Linked DNA regions of Homo sapiens: region 2 is linked to region 1. The links are contacts of gene promoters, found by promoter capture Hi-C in human tissues and cell types (Jung and others, 2019). All regions are on one chromosome and are shown on one strand. The core of a region is centred on a gene start or on the middle of the fragment in contact, and the rest is flanking DNA. Distances in the headings are between cores, read along the strand shown.

Evidence for each region. The method cuts DNA at HindIII sites, captures the fragments that hold promoters and counts their contacts. A contact is called where the count stands out against the background at its distance.
Region 2: a fragment that was not itself captured here is called in contact with the fragment with the promoter of BSPRY in region 1 in 2 of the 25 tissues and cell types used here (mesenchymal stem cells and spleen).

What each region holds. Positions count from the first base shown.
Region 1 is chr9:113,348,067-113,350,790 of GRCh38, reverse strand. It overlaps BSPRY (B-box and SPRY domain containing), which reads right to left and starts at 1,250. Exons shown (of 6, transcript NM_017688.3): 1 at 1,011-1,250. The coding sequence starts at 1,211. RefSeq lists silencers at 903-1,182, 1,213-1,282. The HindIII fragment of the contact is 5,403 bases long and covers 1-2,724 here.
Region 2 is chr9:113,428,691-113,431,390 of GRCh38, reverse strand. It overlaps C9orf43 (chromosome 9 open reading frame 43), which reads right to left. Exons shown (of 14, transcript NM_001278629.2): 13 at 2,428-2,491; 14 at 1,701-2,219. The coding sequence ends at 2,005. Among named protein-coding and RNA genes, the nearest start is that of C9orf43, 19 kb to the right of the region's middle. The HindIII fragment of the contact is 8,820 bases long and covers 1-2,700 here.

The DNA of each region.
Region 1 (2,724 bases), core at 1-2,500:
AACAGGTAGGACGAACCAGGAGCTTTTGGGTGTTGCTGAAAAACTGAACCCCTCCCGAGCCCAGCACCCTATATAAGATGTGTTTATTACAGGTCACTCTGGGTAGGCGAAGTCCCCAGCCAGAGCCCTCAGGCTTCACAGCAGGGGTGAACTGCAGAGTCGGGTTGGGAGAAACAAGCTGTTTAATCAAATTGCAAGGAAATCCCCAGGGGCCACAGAGAAGCCCAAGGTGACTTCGACTCTCCCAATCTCAGCAGCTCAGGAGAATGGTGATGACAAGGAGGTGGCCACCCTGGAGCCGAGCTGGAAGTGGAGGTGGCGAGAAAGCCTGGGTGAAGGGGAATCCCCTGATATTCTCCCTACCCCCACCGTTTATCCAGCTGAAGCCCTTAAACCAGCCTGAAGTACAGTCAAGGCCAATCCTGAAAGCGAAAAAGAGATCACCGCACCAGAAGCCAGAAGGGGTTAGGAGCAGGGGGAAGAGGCGAAAGGAGGAGGGGGGCTTTGAGTCCAGGGGTTAAGGGATACGGTCGCGCTGGATTTTATCAGTGTCAGTTTCCACAGGGGCGGGAGCTGGGGCACACCCTGCGCTGAGAACTGGAGCAGCTGAGCCTTTCATGCCAGCCCCAGCTTCCTCAACAGAGCAATGGAAGGGGCCTGGGGAGCCTGGATCCCCTTATCGCTAAGCATTTTACCCACTATCTTATTTATTTCTCACAACTCTAATAAATACGCGCTATTATTATTGTTGTTGTCCCCAAACTACAGATGAAGACACTGAGGCTCAGAGTTACGTGACTCACAGGGAGTAGATTCGAACTCAGGCCAGCCTGACTTCAGAGGCCACACCCTTAACCGCCTAGTCCTACAGCCAAAGCCACCGAGGAGCCTAGGCTCCGGGGCCGGGTGTCGAGTCCGCCCAGCCCCAGGCTCCCCAGTCCCTGCCGGGTCCCGCCAGGCGCGCCCGGGGTCTCCGGAGCCCTCGCCTTCCGGCGCCCACACCCGCTCACCCGCAGCTCCTCGGCGCGCTCCTCCGCCCGGCGGATGCGGTGCCCCCGGCAGCGACCGCCCAACCCCGCGCAGGCGGCGCACACGGGCCGTCGCTCGGAGCCGCAGAACCAGCTCAGAGCCTGGCCGTGTTCGGGGCAGAGTGGCCCCGGCCCGGGCCCGGACCCGGACCCCGGCCCCGGCTCCGCGCCCTCGGCGGACATGGCCGTGCGCCCGCCCCGTGCGCTCCACCTGTCGCAGGTGGCGGCGGGCGGGGCCTGGCTGACCCCGCCCCCGGCCCTCCCGGTGCGCCAGCGCGCCCCGCAGCTGCGCCTCCTCCCACCCAACCCGCGCTCCCATCCCGCCCGGGGCAGCAGGTCTCTTTAAATTCCTTGTTGAATGAAATCGCGATTGTATGCGTATTTGTTCTACAACAAACATAAAACTCCAAATATTACTGTGACCGTAGGAAACTTTATTGAGCACTTATTAAGTGCCAGGCTTTCGCTGAGAGCTTTGCAAGCGTTCTGTTATGTAATCCCGACCACTGCCCTTTTTGAGAGGCAGCTTTAGATGCCTAGCTTCAAGCAAGGCTCTGCTGAGAAACTGCCTGGTTCAAATCCCGTTTGGCTGCTCACTGGGTGGGAACTCCAGCTGTAAAATGGGGTGAGAGTACCTGCCTCCCAGACGTCTGAGGAGTAAATACGCTAAATACGTAAAACAATATCTGGAACATAGCAGCTGCAATCGCTAAGTGTCTACTAACAGTGCGAGGAAAGTACTATTAGGATCCCATTTTTATGGAAGTTAAGTGGCTTGCCAAGGGTCACAGTTACTAATTGGTAGCTATGAGATTGGAACCTAGGCAGTGTGACTTAAGGTTACTATAATTAATAATTTTTTAAATTGAACATTGAGGCCCAGTGAGAAATATCTGTATTAGGCTGATTTTCCCAAAGTATTTACATCCAAACTTTTTGAATTTGAATATTTGAGTTTTCTTTTTAAACTAGCATTGAAAAAAAGTAATGCCTTTTTATTTCGAAGAAAACAAAATATGCAAATAAGCATGTGGAAGAAAAATCCACCCACTCCCACCCCAGAAAGAAAAACTGCTAACATGTTCCTGAGCTGTTTAGGGCTTTTCCCACCCTCAGGATCTTATATATTAGTCTGAGCCCAGATTGAGCCCTCTGCTGGGGATCCAGTCTAGTCTGTCTGGGCATACAAGGAGAACGCTGCTCTCCAGCTCTAAATTCTTCTTCTTCTTTTTTTTTTTTATTTTTTTTTATTTTTTTGAGATAGGGTCTCACTGTGTCACCCTGGCTGGAGTGCAGTGGTGTAATCATAGCTCACTGCAGCCTCGACCTCCCCAGCTCAAGTGATCCTCCCACCTCAGCCTCCTGAGTAGCTGGGACTACAGGCACATGCCACCGTGCCCAGCTAAGTTTTGTATTTTTCGTAGAGACAGGGTTTTGCCATGTTGCCCAGGCTGATCTCAAACTCCTGGGCTCAAGCCATCTCCCCCCTTCAGCCTCCCAAAGTGCTGGGATTACAGGTGTGAGCCACCGCGCCCGGCCACCAACCCCAAATTCTTTCTTAGGAGTCTTGGCAGAAAGCTGGGCACTCTCTCAAAAGGGGAAGGGCCCAGGCCTTCAGGTGTCAGAGAGTACTCTGAGTGCATCAGAACTGAACACAGGCGGGAGCTAAACCGAAAGAGAAACATTACATCCCATA
Region 2 (2,700 bases), core at 201-2,700, 80 kb before region 1:
GTTTCTGGAGAATGAGGTGAGAGAACAGCAGACTGGAATAATGAAAAGAGCTCTGACCTAGCACTAGGAGACCCAGATTCCAGCTTAGCCCCACTTCCCAGCTCATGAGCTCAGTCAAGACAAATCCCCTCTCTGAGCCTTGCTATCCTTACCTTTAAAATGGGACTGCAAATTAATGATCTCTACATTGTGGGGTTAAATTCTTCCTCCTTAAAATTTGTCCCAAATGATGGCTCTGGACAGTCCTAATGTTTTGCAGGACTCAGGATAAGTGTACAAAAACAGGTCTACTAACCATGTCTGAACATTTAAAAACTATAAATTAAGCTAACAAATTGTTAAATAAAACATGTTCTAACTTGCTACCTTGACCAGTATACCTTCATGATCTAGAAAGCCAGGTTCATTCAAAATCCACAGATTCCTTGAGGTTCCACACTAACATGCAGCACTAGAAGAACCAGCCCTCACTTCTCATCCCCATGATCCCATCCTTACTGGGAAAGGCAACAAATGCTGATACCCCAGTCTATCTGTCCAAGCTCTGGGCACATCCCTCTCCAAATACCCTCCTCTTACCCCCTTGAACCCAGCAGCACACACACTGGTGGGATAGTCCACTCTTGGGAGATGGACCCACAAAAGAGGCCTGCAGAAGCCATGGAAGTAGGCAAGAGGCCACTGGGCAGGGAATTCCAGGGTTCCAAATACCAGGAACAAAGTCTAAAAGGGGAGTCACAGACTCCAGCTAGGTGTACGTCCACTTGGCTCTGCAGATTTCTCTGCCGTGAGGGGCAGCACAGCCAGAACACCAGAGGACTTTCTAAAGCACGGGGCCAAGGGCCTTCCTTGCCCAGATCTAAGATACTGAATACATCAAAGTTTCATTATATTATTCTCTTTCCTTTTACGTAATTTTGAAATTTTTACATTATATCTTTTTAAGGACTAAAACATGAAAAAAAAAAAACCTCCAAAACCAAGTTAGAAGTTCTCTCAGACTCTGAAATTCTGAGCCTTTATGAGCATCACTGAAACTTTCCTGTGCAGACTCAGTTCCTTAGAAACTAGAGCTTTTTGCCGGGTGCGGTGGCTCACACCTGCAATCACGGCACTTTGGGAGGCTGAAGTGGGTGGCTCACCTGAGGTCAGGAGTTCGAGACCAGCCTGACCAACATGGAGAAACCCCCATCTCTACTAAAAATACAAAATTAGCCAGGCATGGTGGCGTATGCCTGTAATCCCAGCTACTCGGGAGGCTGAGGCAGGAGAATCGCTTGAACCCAGGAGGCGGAGGTTGCGGTGAGCCGAGATCATGCCATTGCACTCCAGCCTGGGCAACAAGAACAAAACTCCATCTCAAAAAAAAAAAGAAAGAAACTAGAGCTTTTGGCTGGGCACAGTGGTTCATGCCTGTAATCCCAGCACTTTGGGAGGCTGAGGAGGGAGGACTGCTTGAGCCTAGGAGCTTAAGACCAGCGACACAATGAACATTATTTGATAACAATGTAGATCCCATCTCCAAAAGAAACCATTTCTAGGGAATGAGAGGAAAATCTAGGGAGCATCATGGCAGCTCCCATGAGCCAAATTCAGCCTCCTACAACTGGAAACCTTTCAGAACTTCAGAGATAAGAGTGACCCAGAAAACAGATACCAAGAAACATCTTTCCCTTCCTCCTAGAAACAGAAAATAAGTCTTTTGATTGAAAAGCAGTTGTGTTTAATCACCAAAATTATTCTGACCCTAATGGAAAGGAAATAATCTAAATTTAAAAAGGCTGGGGATTTTTCTCCTACATTTATTTTAGAGGCAAGTAGAGGTGAACAAAGAAAATGGAATCCCTAAGCTCAGAGCTCAGGCCCTGGTAAAGGCTCCAGAGAGCAGAAGCCCCTCTCCTCTTGCCCTTATGTGAAACGTTGCTGCCCTCAGGATACCAGCCATCCCGCTTTGGAACACGGCTGCCCCAGGGGATGCCTTCAGTCTATTCCTCCAGAGGCTTCTCACTCTGCCCCAGAGGACTGGTCCTCCTCATCCTCATCATCAGTGTCCTGAAGAATCCTAAGTAGTTTGAGCTCAGAGTTCCAGCCTGTGCTAGCCATAATTTCTGAAAAGTTAAAGGAGATCTTCTTTTGCCTGGCAGCCTGGGCTTCTGGCACAGCGTCCACTGGAGCACTAATGTCCTTGTTAGTGGGTTCTGTTTCATACAATTCAGGACCTAAAAGAAGATGCAGTCATTAATTGCACCTGTAAACTCCTCTCAACTACAACAAATGGAGGACAGAAAAGGAAAAATGGGGTGTTTTTAGGACTTCTCTGAGATAGAGGAACTGTGCCTTCAGGGAGGTAAACTATCCTGGTCAACACAGGTTCAACTCTCCCTATCCTCAGTCACTTACTAAGGTTCCTCTACTCTAGTAACTTACTTTTTACACTGTGGTGGAAATCCGCATGGTCATAGTAGTTCATCTTTGGTCTCTCCGTGGAATCCTGAAATTCATTGGGGTATAAGGAAATTTGAATCAAGACTTTAGGAAACTAAAAGGATTTTTCTAAAAGATGCTTCTCTTGGAGAAATTAACATCTAAGATGAGCCAGAGACCCACCTCTTGGGACTGAAGAGAAGCTTTTACCACACGTTCTTTGCCCTCCATGCTGTCCAAATGAACCTAGAACCACTCCTTCCCATTCCCTGCAGT